Linked DNA regions of Homo sapiens: region 1 is linked to region 2. The links are contacts of gene promoters, found by promoter capture Hi-C in blood cells and fetal thymus (Javierre and others, 2016). All regions are on one chromosome and are shown on one strand. Each heading gives the region's core, a stretch centred on a gene start or on the middle of the fragment in contact. The rest is flanking DNA. Distances are from core to core; before and after follow the strand shown.

Region 1 (6,127 bases), core at 2,216-4,715, 420 kb after region 2:
CCACTTAATTTGTTCTTGGCCATTGTCTTTGATACTCATGTGTAGCCACTCAAGCCCCAGGTGACACCATCTACACACACTGGAAATATGAAATTTTTTGAGGCCCAACATGTTGTTCAAAGGAAATGCTCACTGCAGCATTTTGAATTTTAATTTTCAGATTAGGGAAGCTGAACCGATAAGCATAATACGAATATTCCAAAATCTGCCCAAACACTTCTGGTCCAAAGTATTTCAGATAAGGGATACTGAACCTGTATAAGCTGTTCATCTAAGCTATATTAGATATGTCTTCTTATCAAATTGTTCCATTAAACTATAATAAAGATAAATCAATGGCAAAAAAAAAAAAAAAAAGAAAATTTTTGTGACCTTGGGTTAGGCAAACGGGATGTTCTTAGACACACTATCAAAAGCATGAGCCATAAAAAAATTGAAAAAGTGATCTTCATCAAAATTAAAACCTTCTGCTCTTTGAATAACTCTTTTAAGAGAATGGAAATGTGAGCCATGGACTGAGAGAAAATGTTTGCAAGTTACACATCTGAATTAAAGAAAAACAAAAACTTGTATCCACAATACATAAAGAACTCTCAAGACTCAATAATAAGAAAATAAACAGCCCAGCTTTTATAATGGGCAAAAGATTTGAACAGACATTTCACCAAACAAGATGGCAAATAAACACATGACCAGTTGTTTAGCATTATTAGTCATTACAAAAATGCAAATTTAAACCACAATGAGACACTACTACATACCTATTAGAATGGTAAATTTAAAAGACTGGCTATACTGAGTTGAATAGGGTCGCCTCCAAATTCATGTCCACTGGAACCTCAGAATGTGACTTTATTTGGAAATAAGATATTTTCAGATAATTAGTTAAAGCAAGGTAATAGTGGATTAGGGTAGGCCCTAAATCTACTGACTGACTGTTGTCCTTAAGAAGGCCACATGAAGACACAGAGACACACAGAGAAGAGAATGCCATGTGAAGCCAGGGACAGAGATTGGAGTGATGTATATATAAGCCCAGGAATATCTGTGGCCACCAGAGCTGGAAGAGGCAAGAAGCTCTCTCCCTGAGAGCCTCCAGAGGGAATCAACCCTGCTGACTCTTGACTTTAAACTTCTGGCCTCCAGAGCTGTGAGAAAACACGTTTCTCTTGTTTTAAGACCCCCAGTTTGTGGCAATTAATTACAGCAACCCTTGGAATCTAATATATTGACCATTCCAAATGCTGGGGAAGAATGTGGAGGAACTGGAACTCTTGTACATTGCTGATGGGAATGTAAGATAGTACAAGCGCTTTGGAAACCAGTTTGGCAATTTTTTTAAAAAAGTTAAACACCTGCTGCAGGATCCAGCCATTCTGCTCCTAGGTATTTACCCAAGAGAAAAGAAAGCTGTGGTAGGCAAAATAATGGCCCCTGAAGATGTCCATGCCCTAATCCCTGGAACCCATAAACATGTTAAATTACATGACAAAGGAGACTTTTTAGATGTGATTAGATTAAGGATCTTGAGATGGAGAGATTGTTCTGGATTATCCAGGTGGGCCTGATGTCATCACAAGGGTCCCTATAAGTGAAAGAGGGAGGCAGAAGAGTGAGTGTGAGAGTGACATCATGTGACAAGACTTGACTTGTCATTGCTGCCTTTGAAGATGGAGGAAGGAGCCACAAGCCATAAATTCAGGTGGCCTCTAGAAGCTGGAAAAGGCAAGGGAATAGATTCCTCCTAGAGCCTCCAGAAGGAATGCAGCTGTGCTGACACTTTGATCTTATCCCAGTGAAACTCATTTTAAAATTCTGACCCCCAGAACTATAAAATAATAAATTTGTGTTGTTTGAAGCCTCTACGTTTGTGGTGATTTGTTATAGCACCCATAGCAAACAAATACAAAAACATATATCCACACAAAGACTTGTAAGCATCAATGTCCATAGCAGCTTTATTTGTAATAGACAAGTATCCACCAATATGGATAAACAAATTATGGAATATCCATACAATGGGATTCTACTCACATACTGCATTATTCCCTGTATATGGCATTCTGAAAAGGGCAGAACTTCAGGGACAGAAAATAAATGAGGAACTGCCAGGGGCTGGGTGGGTGATAGAAATGACTACAAACCTATACAAGGGAAGTTTTTTGGGTGATTGTAGTGGTAGTTACGTAATTATATGCATTTGTTGAACTTACAGAACTATACCCCTAAAAAGGGCAAATTTTTCTCTATATAAATTTTACTTCAGTAACTTTGACTTAGAAAATGGAGAGGTGAGAGACACAGCAAAGAAAAAGAAGGAAATGGCTGGGCGCAGTGGCTCACACCTGTAATCCCAGCATTTTGGGAGGCCGAGGCAAGTGGATCACCTGAGGTCAGGAGTTTGAGACCAGCCTGGCCAACATGGTGAAGCCCCATTTCTACTAAAAATACAAAAAATTAGCTGGACGTGGTGGTGCGCACCTGTAATCCCAGCTACTTGGGAGGCTGAGGCAGGAGAATCTCCTGAACCCGGGAGGCGGAAGTTGCAGCGAGCTGAGATCATGCCATTCTACTCCAGCCTGGGCGACAAGAGCAAAACTCCATCAGAAAAAAAAAAAAAAAGGAAGGGCCTCAGACCAAATATTGAATCCAGGTGGGATTGTAAGTTCCTTTAAGACACAAGAAAGATTTATGGCAGTGCCTCATAGAACCTTTCCAGTACAGAAAAGCTTCTCTAAGGATCTATAGGCCATGCCTCACAGGCACTTTCCATTATATGACAAGCCTTTTTAAGATCTTAAAGGCATTGATCTACAGTGATCTCAATGGGAACCCACGGTAGAAAGGGCTTATCTCAAAGAGATTTGTGATTTTGGCTTTTCTTTAATGGCATGAATCTCAATAAGATTCGTAGGAAACACACAGTGTTTTTAATAGAATTGTTCTGGTGGAAGCTGTGCCTGCTTGAACTAAAAGGAACTGAGAGAATAGAAAATAAAATGAGGTCTTTGGTTTTCCAAACTTCTATAGGTAGGAAGCAAGCCAAGAAAAACCCTCAGCTGCAAACATGGCTGTACTTTATGGAAAATAACAGTGACTCAGAATCATATCTAGGGAACAATCCTGAGTCCCAGTCAAGGAATTGGCAACATTTAGCAACATTTGCCCAGCTGGATTTTAGAATTGTTATGGACCAGTGATTTACCTCCTGTTTTCTACCTCTTTAAATGTGAGTGCCTGTAACAGTTGTCTTGTGCCTGACCCATGACTGCATGTTGAGTGTGTAAGAAGCAGTTAATTTGCTCTTTATTTTACAGATGTTCAGGTCAAAAAGAAAAGTACTCAAAGAGCTGTCCCCAAAGTATCATACCTGAGGAGCATAATGTGGGCCTGGACCTGATTTAGATAATAAAATCCTGGACCTTGATACTAAGCCTGATCCTGTAATGGGATGAAACTCCTGGGAGGTCTCAGAGGAGTGTATTTTACATGTGAAAGGGATATGAATTGTTGTGGCCAGAGAGTGAGCTTGGCACATTATATTTTCCAAAAAATGTCTGCAGTAATATTTCCCAGCCCACATGCCCTTCTGGAACTTTGCAACTCCTCCATGAAGAGGTGGAATCTATGTTCCATCCCCACTTGAACTTGGTTTGGCATTTATGCCTTTCTTGACTGGTGGAGTACAGTAAAAGTGATACCATGTGACTTCTGAGGCTAGGTCACAAAAATACCGTATACTTCTGCCTCGATTTACTGAGATGCTCAATCTTGAAACCCAGCCACCATGCTGTGAGGAAGCCCAAGTAGCCTTTGAAGAGACCCAGATGGAGAGGAACCAGAGTTCTCAGTCTAATGCCTGAGGTTAGGCTGAGCTCCTAACCAATGGTTAGCACCAAGACGCCACGTGAGTGAGCCATCTTGGAAGTGGATCTTCCCACCCACATTGAGCTGTGTCAGCTGAAGCCCCATGCAACAGAGACAAGCTGACCCCACTAAGTCCTGTCCAAATTGCTGATTCACAACCAAAATAAATGATTATTATTTATTTCAAGCCACTAAGTTATGGGGTACATTGTTACACAGTAATGAATAAATAGAACCTTTACCTAGAGGTCTCTAAAAATAGTATAGAAATGAACCCAGAGCCAAAGCAATAAGAAAAATATTGATAGATGAGTATTTTAAAATGTAAAGCTTCTGCATACCAAAAAGAGTCACAGACAACATTAAAAGTTAAAGATATCCGTTTCCAGGTATATACACACAAGAATTGAGAGCAGGGACTTAAAAAGATATTTGTATACCCATGTTCACAGCAACACTATTCACAATAGCCAAAAGATGGAAACAATCCAGGTGTCCATCGATGGATGAATGGATAAGCAAAAATGTGGTCTATCCACACAATGAAATATTATTCAGCCTTAAAAAGGAAGGAAGTTCTGACATAGGCTACAACATGAATGACACTTGAAGAATCATGCTAAGTGAGATAAGCCAGACACACAAAAAAGATAAATATTGTATGATTTCACTTATGTGAGATTCCTGGAGTAATTATAGAGACAGAAAGTAGAATAAGGGCTACCAAGGGCTGGGGGAGGGAGAATGGAGAGTTACTGTTTAATGGGTGCACAGTTTCAAATTTTGGTGATGAAAGTTTTGGAGATGGATGGTGGTGATGGTTGCACAACAGTGTCAATGTACTTAATGCCACTGAACTGGACTCTTTTTTTTTTTGAGTTTCACTCTGTCGCCCAGGCTGGAGTGCAGTGTTGTGATCTCAGATCACTACAACCTCCACTCCCAGGTTCAAGAGATTCTCCTGCCTCAGCCTCCCAAGTAGCTGCGATTACAGGCATGCACCACCGCACCCAGCTTTTTTTTTTTTTTTTTTGTATTTTTAGTGGAAACAGGGTTTCACCATGTTGGCCAGGCTGGTCTCGAACTCCTGACCTCAAGTGATCCACCCCACCTCAGCCTCCCAAAGTGCTGGGATTACAGGCATAAGCCACCGCACCCGGCCTGAACTGGACTCTTAAAAATGGTTAAAAGGGTAAATTTTATGTTATGTGTATTTTACCACAATAAACAAGATAATTCAAAGACAAATAGAACACTGGAAAAATATTTGCAAAAATAACGGCTTTATATTGCCAGTTTTTAAAAACATAAGCAAAGATAGAAACATGCAATGCAAAATAAGAAGAATTAGGATGAGGAGGAGAAATAAAAATGGCTAAAAACCAATTTGGAAATATATCCAATCTCTCTAGTGAGCAGTTTTAGTGGTGTGTGGGATAATATCATATATAGCTGTTGAGCGTGTAAATTAGCATCTTTCTGGAAGGCAGTTTGGTTCTATGCATGAAATCTTTTTTTAAAAAGTTCCATGACCCCCCAATTACACTATTAGGAATTAAGTATAAAACAGTAGTCAGATGAAATACATACAAGGGCAAGCAATAGAGGATGGCTAATAATCAGACAAAAGTTTAAATCAACCTACAACCCCCAGTAAGAGGAGGTTCGTAAATAAATGCTGGCACAACCGTGGACTATGCAAACTTTAAAAGGGACGACATTCTTCTATATTTATTGACATGCCGAGGTGTGCATGACATATTTTAAGTGAAAAAGATGCAGATTAAGAGAAAATATGTACAGTATGGGGGCGGAAAGTGCATGTGTCTGAATACATTAGAAGTCTAGAAGAAATGTTAACCATGCTCATTTGTGGGTAGTGGAACTCCAGATAATTTTTTTCTTCCTTACACTCATCTTTCTTTTTTTTTCTTTTTCGGGGCTATGAGCATATATTCCATCAGAAAATTTTAGAAGACCTTTTTTTTTTTTTTTTTTTTTTTACACAATTACAGAAAAGCACAGATGTGGTCCTGGCTGGAGAGGGAAGAATCCCACTGCCCTTCTCATTTGAGGATCTCAAGGCACATCAAAAAACATCTGCTGAGGACTTGGCAAACCCTAAGATGTCTCGGTCAAAGTTGCCCTCCCTGGAGAGTTCCAGCCCCAGTCTGCTCCAAGTTCAGTCCACACAGAGCATTCACTGACACTCCTCAAATCCTCCATCATCTGTGCAAGTGGAGTAGATAAAGTTTATAAG
Region 2 (6,989 bases), core at 1,221-3,720:
CCCAGAATTCCCACGTGTTGTGAGTGGGACCCAAGAGGAGGTCATTGAGTCATGGGGGCCAGTCTTTCCTACGCTATTCTTATAATAGTGAATAAGTCTCACGAGATCTGAAGGGTTTATCAGGGGTTTCCGCTTTTGTTTCTTCCTCACTTTCTCTTGCCACTGCCATGTAAGAAGTGTCTTTCACCTCCCGCCATGATTCCAAGGCCTCCTCAGCCATGTGGAACTGTAAGTCCAATTAAACCTCTTTTTGTTCTCAGTTTCGGGTATGTCTTTATCAGCAGTGTGAAAACGGACTAATACATATATCCATTAAATATATATCTATACTTAACCACTTCTCTCCACCTCCACTGCTCCACTCTAAGCCACCACCATCACTTGCTTGGACTACTGCAGTAGTGTTCTCCCTGATCGCCTGGCTTCTACTATCATTCCCTGCCCATAGCAGTCAGGGACCATGTTAAATCTAACACAGACCATGTCCCTCCTCTGCTCAAAACCCTCCCATGGCTCCTCATTCTTCTTAGAGTAAAAGCAAAATCTTTCCTCTGGTCCTTAAGCCCCTAGGTCACCTGGCTTTCTGGCTTTGCCAATAATCTCTGATCTATTGTGTTTTTTTTTTTGTTTTTGTTTTTTTTTTGTTTGACAGAGTCTTGCTCTGTCACCCAGGCTGGAGTGCAGTGGTGCAATCTCAGCTCATTGCAACCTCTGCCTCCTGGGTTCAAGTGATTCTCCTGTCTCAGCCTCCCAAGTAACTGGGATTACAGGTGTACACCACCATGCCTGGCTAATTTTTTTTTTTTTTTTTTTTTGTATTTTTAGTAGAGACCGGGTTTCACCATGTTGGCTAGGCTGGTCTCGAACTCCTGACCTCAAGTGATCTACCTGCCTCGGCCTCCCAAAGTGCTGGGATTATAGGCGTGAGCCACTGCGCCCAGCCAGCTGACCTATTTTCCTACTATTCTTCCCATTGCTCACTTGGCTCCACTGGTCTCCTCGTTGTTCTTCAAACATGCCCAGGATGGCCCCATTTCAGGGCTTTTGCACTTGCTGTTCCCTCTGCCTGGGACCTCCTTCTCCCAGATAACCACATGGCTCCCTCCCTCATTCCTCCAGGTCTGTCCTCAGAGAGGCCTTCCCTGACCACCTTGTCTAAAAGCTGCACTTCCAGCTTGGGCAAGATAGCAAGACCCCCCCGATCTCTACAAAAAATTAAAAAAAATTAGCCGGGTGTGGTGGTACACACCTGTAGTCCCAACTACTTGGGAGGCTGAGGTGGGAGGCTCGGTTGAACCCAGGAGTTCAGGTTACAATGAGCTGTGATTGTGCCACTGCACCCCAACCTGGGTGACAAAAAAACACAAAAAACAAAAAACAAAAACAAAAAAACTGCACTCCCAGGCTTTCTGCCCCATTGCCTTAGCGTACAGTCCTAGCATGAATCACTTCCAGAACTCATTTGTGTTGTCTTGATTCCTGGCTGCACCTGCTTACCTGGTTCAGGTACAGTGCCTGGCACACAGTAGGCGCTTAGTGAGAGGCTGTACAATGGAGAGCTGACCCTGGTCTGTCCTGTTCTTCCTGCTTTCAGGCCAGGACTTAATAGTGATTGGGAGGTGGCGGGTGGTGGAGAAGAGGCGGCAGGAACAGGAAGGAAGGGTTCAAGGAGGTGGGCAGGGCAAAAACAACAGCAATTCCTATTTCTTGAGAGCTTTCTGTTGTGCCGTGCACTTTACATATCATGATGGTCTTTATTTTCCGGATGAGGAAACGGAGGCTTAGAGAAGTGAAATGATTTCTCTAAGCTCACACAGTGTTCAGTGGCCTAGTGCGACTCGAACTCAAGTCTGCCTAATTCCAGAACTTCCTCTCTTCACCTGGAGCCAGGGGAAGCTTGCGAGGCGCCCTGTCCGTATGGAACAGTGCTGTACGCAAATGTCCTGGATTCAGCTGTTTTTTCTGCCACTCACACATTTTTCAGGAATTAGAGCTATTTTTCTAATTTAACTGGGCATTAAATTTGCTAAACCTGGCAACCCAGGTTTAGCAAATATTTTTATTATTTGTAGAGATGGTGGTCTCCCTCTGCTGCCCAGGCTGGTCTTGAACTACTAGGCTCAGGCAATCCTCCTGCCTCGTCCTGGGGGGAGTTCGGACTTAAGCCTAGGACTTCAGCGAATGGCCCGCCCAGGACCCCCAAATGCTTTTGCAGGCTAATCCACGACCTGGGCCAGTCCTTACCTTTGGAATCGCAATGAGCTTCCCGGGCTCCAATCCGCTTTTCTGGGCTAGGGAACTGGGGAGTCGCGAGCCAGGAGCGGACCCTTTAAGAGTGATTTCGAGGGCGGGCTCACGGGGGCGTGCCGGTTCGGGGCCTGCCAATCGGGAGGTGGGAAGAACGCGGGGGCGGGCCCGGCGCGAGCAGGCTGGGAAGGGTTAAAGGGGCGCGCCCGTGGGTCGCGGACTGTCCGGTTGCTCCCGCCTCCTTCCGTCGGATCCGCGCTCTCCCGCGGCTGCGCCGGCCCGGCCGCCCAGGAGACAAAGCGCTGCCGCCGCCGTCGCCGCCACCGGGCCAGTCCCGAACCATGGCCGGGCCACCCCGCAACCTCGCGCCTCCCGTCCCGTCGCCGCCCTAGGCCTGCGCTGCGAGGTAAGGCGGGCCTGGCGGGGGGACATGCACGAGGACATGGGACCCGGGTCGGGCCGCCCTGGGCCTCGGGGTCCCCCGGCCACCTGGAGAGCGCGTTGCGGGGATCTTCCCCGCTGGGACTCCGCACCAGTGGTGACTTCTCCAGCTGCCGAGGCGAACTTGGCCAATGACCACCCTCCCCTCTCTCAGCCCATAGGGACGTCTGCCGCTGGTGGGGACTGCGGATAAGCCCCCCATTCTGCCGCTGATCACCCATCTGGGGCTCTGGCTGTCCTTTAAGGAACTTAAGAGAGCTCCCACGCACAACACACAAAGGGACAGAGAGCAGCCGGGAGCAGGGCCACACCTGGAGCAGCAGCCCCTGCCGTGGACAAGGGGGCTGCCTGTGTCTGGACGGCGGTGCTGGCGTGTCTCTGGGGTCCCTGCTGGGGCGGTGACGGCCAGGCTGCTCTTTAGTGTTCTTGGCACACATGTTTTTCAGCCTGTGCCTGCCACACCCTCTTCCCCACGCCCGCTGCTGGGGGACACTGAGGGCAGCTGGATTCAACCCCAGGACCTGCGGTACTGGCTTCTTTTCGTTGATGTGAGTGCCAAAATGCCATGCTTCAGTCTCCCAGGAGACCTGGGTTCCGGGGCCAGCTGTGCCCCTGGAGATCTTGGATGAATTATTTGCCTTTTTGACAGCTCTTTCCCTGAAAGCTCACTACCCACCAAGTATTTTGCAAAATGACTCTTCAGGAGTCAATTCACTCAGCCCTTAGAGGGATGGAAGTTAACGTCACCATTTTGCAGATGAGGCTGAGAAAAAACTCCGACTCACAGCAGCTAATATTTGCAATCCATTTCCCATAGTTTGCCAGTGGGTTTTCCTTCTTTTAGCTCATGAACCCTCGCCACACAGCCCAATTTAACAGATGAGGACACTGAGACTTGGAAAGGTGAAACGACTTGTCCAAGGTCCTCCAGCCTGGACCTGCGGAGGCAGGAACTTTGCCTTGGGAGCAGAGCTGGGCCAGGCTCCCTCCAGCTTCCTGTCTGGCCATGGGCTGTTGAATCAGCAGCAGTGCCCACAGTGGACTCTGAACTTCTTGGAAAACAGTGTGGGGAGATAAGGCAGGGGCCAGGCCTTCGCTCCAGGCAAGGCTGGCGCCTGTGCCCCTGCAGCTTCCTGTCTTCCCAGTTCTGGTGGAGGCAGGGGTCATGGGCAGAGCTGGGTCCTGTGCCTGCTGGTGACCTTGAACCAGTTTGGCCTCTATCTAGGCAGTCGGGGGAGGAGGGTTGCTGAGCAGGAGGGAAGTTGCTATTCCTTTGGCCTTGATGGGGTGGAGAGACCCCAAGATCAGCCCCTTTATTTGGGTGGCTTGCCTGGAGCATGTGATTCTGGGCACAGTTGTATGCCTCTAGCCAACTTATTGAATCTCCCTGTGTCCATTTCCACATCTGTGAATGTGGGGTGAGATCCCTTGTCTTGGGGCTGTTGAAAGGTTTCAGAAGATACTGCAGAATGAATCAAACAGCTGTGTGAGTACCTACTGCATGCCAGGCACTAGAATTCAGACCACAAACGCCCCTGCAGGCAGAAATGACCCAGGTATTAATTTCAGGTGGAGGCACAGGAGAGGGACTGGGGGGCCTCTTGTGCATAGGGTGGCCAGGGACCACCTCTCTGAGGAGGTGACAGCTAGGCTGAGACCAAAGGATGGGGAGCTGGCCTTGTGAAGACCTGCAGGCAGACAGCCGGGACCAAGTCTTGGAGGTGGGGATGTGTCTGGTGTATTTGAGGAACAGAAAGGAGGCCAGGATGGCTGGAGCTGAGTGAACAAGGGGGAAAGAGGTAGGGAAAGGGAACTTGGAAGCCAAGGGAGGCTTGGATTTTTTTTTTTTTTTTTTTGAGACAGAATCTCACTATGTCACCCCCCAAGTTCAAGGGGTCCTTCCATGTTAGCCTCCCAGATAGCTAGGACTAGAGGCTTGTATCACCATGCCCAGCTATTTTTTTTTCTATTTTTTATAGAGATAGGGTCTTGCTATGTTGTCCAGGCTGGTCTCTAACTCAAGCAATCCTACCCCCTCAGCCTCCCAAAGTGCCAGCATTACAGGTGTGAGCCACCGCACCCTGCCTAAGGATTTAATTTTATGCTGAGAGAAGTAGGGAGCCATGGGAGGGTTTAGAGCAGAGGAGGAGTGTGATTGGACTTAATTTTCACAGGATCCATCTGTGGGAAGTGGATTTCAGTGTGGCTCGGAGAAGAGCTTAGGAAGGAGGCTTGGATCTTACCTTGAGGAACATGGACAGGGAGGGGCAAGGAGACTTATGAGGAGGCTACAGCAGCCATCCCAGTGAATGGTGATGGGGCCTAGAATGGGGAGGTGGAGTGGACAGATTAGGCAACTGATTTGGAAGACGCTGGAGAGGGGGATCAACTGGACTTGATGTGCGATCAGATGCGGGGGTGAGAGGGAAACCAAGGGCCATTTGCTGAGATCGGAAGCACAACACAGGGATGTTTGGGGAAAAGCCAAGAAAAATGTGAACTGCAACCGCGCTCAGCAGGCACTGTGTGCCTGGCCCCATGCTCCGCAAAGTCCATATAGTCACTGTATCATTGTCACAACAGCCCTGACTTAGGCACTGTTACGATCCCATTTTACAGATGCAGAAACAGAGGCCCAGAGAGATGAATAGCCTGCCTGGGGTCCCCCAGCCCAGATGCTGCAGAGCTGACATTTGAATCCAGAGAAGAGCGAGCTGAGGCTGGAGCTGAGCAGAGGGCAGGGAGGCAAGTGGTGGCCTGAGAGGTAGGAGCGGAACTGGGCAAGCAGGGCGGGAGGGTCCTGTGAGAACCGGGGCCAGCATCCACATGGGAGTTGATGGGTGGTGGTGTGGGGAATGCGTGAATCCCTGCGGCTTAGAGAGGGACAGCTGTAGCTGAGAGGCAGGGTGGGGATTCAACACCTGGAGACTTTGGGGGCTCTGGCCTTGGCCTCCCACTAGGTCAGGACAAACTGACCTCAGTTTCTTTTTTTATTTTAAGTTCCATGATACATGTGCAGAACATGCAGGCTTGTCACATAGGTATACGTGTGCCATGGTGGCTTGCTGCACCATTGACCCGTTCTCTAAGTTCCCTCCCCTCACCCCCGATCCCCCAACAGGCCCCGATATGTGTTCTGCCCCTCCCTGTGTCCATGTGTCTCATTGTTCAACTCCCACTTATGAGTAAGAACATGCGGTATTTGGTTTTCTGTTCCTGTGTTAGTTTGCTGAGGATGATGGCTTCCAGCTCCATCTATTTCCCCGCAAAGGACATGATCTCATTCCTTTTTATGGCTGGATAGTTTTCCATGGTGTGTATGTACCACATTTCCTTTATTCAGTCTATCATTGATGGGCATTTGGGTTGGTTGATCTCAGTTTCTAAGTCACAACTCATGTTCCGTCTTCTAGGAAGCCTTCCCTGACTGCCTATGTGGCTGACAGGAGGTGGCAAGGACAACCCCCTCCACCCTAGGACAGGTAGTCTGGCAGGGCCTCACTGCGGTCACCTGCTCCCAGGAGAGCCACCACCCTGACCTCATTCCACCAGGCTCTGAGAAAGACACCACCCAGGCAGGGGAATGAACACTGAGTGCCTACTGCGTACCAGGACTTTATATCCTTTGCTTCTTGAAAAATGTAGCTACCATCCTATGCAGGCTGAGGCTCTGCAGTGGGAGATAAGGCAGGCTCTCAAAATGGCCATGGAAAACCCCAAGGGAAGGTGGCCAGGCCAGGGACGCAGATGCCACCTCCCGACAAGTCCTTCCTGGCCAGCGTTGCCCCATCATATACTCCTTGGGGGAAGGTGGATGGGGTCACTGTGGCCGATGGCATGGAGTTAGAGTCCTCTATGCTAAATGGCACGGGTCGACCCCCTGCCCCTCCTTCCTGTAAGTCAGCCTAGCCCTGGGCCTGCATCTTTCCCCAAATTCTTTCTTTTTTTTTGAGACGGAGTCTGGCTCTGTCCCCAGGCTGGAGTGTAGTAGTGCAATCTCGGCTGACTGCAACTTCTGTCTCCTGGGTTCAAGCACTTCTCCTGCCTCAGCCTCCCAAGTACCTGGGATTATAGGCACCCCCCACCATGCCTGGCTATTTTTTTTTTTTTTTTGAGATGGAGTCTTGCTCTGTCGCCCAGGCTGGACTGCAATGGCGCAGTCTTGGCTCACTGCAACCTCCGCCTCTTGGGTTCAAGCGATTCTTCTGCCTCAGTCTCCCAAGTAGCTGGGATTATGGGCGTGCACCACCTCACCTGGCTGTTTTTTAGTAGAGATGGGGTTTTGCCATGTTGGCCAGGCT

The links. Contacts are between HindIII fragments. The CHiCAGO score rates a contact against its expected background, and 5 or more counts as called.
Region 1: a fragment that was not itself captured here is called in contact with the fragment with the promoter of PHETA1 in region 2 in 1 of 17 cell types (M1 macrophages); the score reaches 5.9 in M1 macrophages.

Annotation. Positions count from the first base shown.
Region 1 is chr12:110,943,422-110,949,548 of GRCh38, reverse strand. No RefSeq gene overlaps it. Among named protein-coding and RNA genes, the nearest start is that of VHRT, 9.9 kb to the right of the region's middle. The HindIII fragment of the contact is 1,468 bases long and covers 2,732-4,199 here.
Region 2 is chr12:111,364,576-111,371,564 of GRCh38, reverse strand. PHETA1 (PH domain containing endocytic trafficking adaptor 1) reads left to right here and starts at 2,470. Exons shown (of 3, transcript NM_144671.6): 1 at 2,470-2,653; 2 at 5,308-5,452. LINC02356 (long intergenic non-protein coding RNA 2356) reads right to left here and starts at 2,304. Exons shown (of 4, transcript NR_187522.1): 1 at 2,245-2,304. RefSeq lists a silencer at 2,300-2,879. The HindIII fragment of the contact is 8,438 bases long and covers 1,899-6,989 here.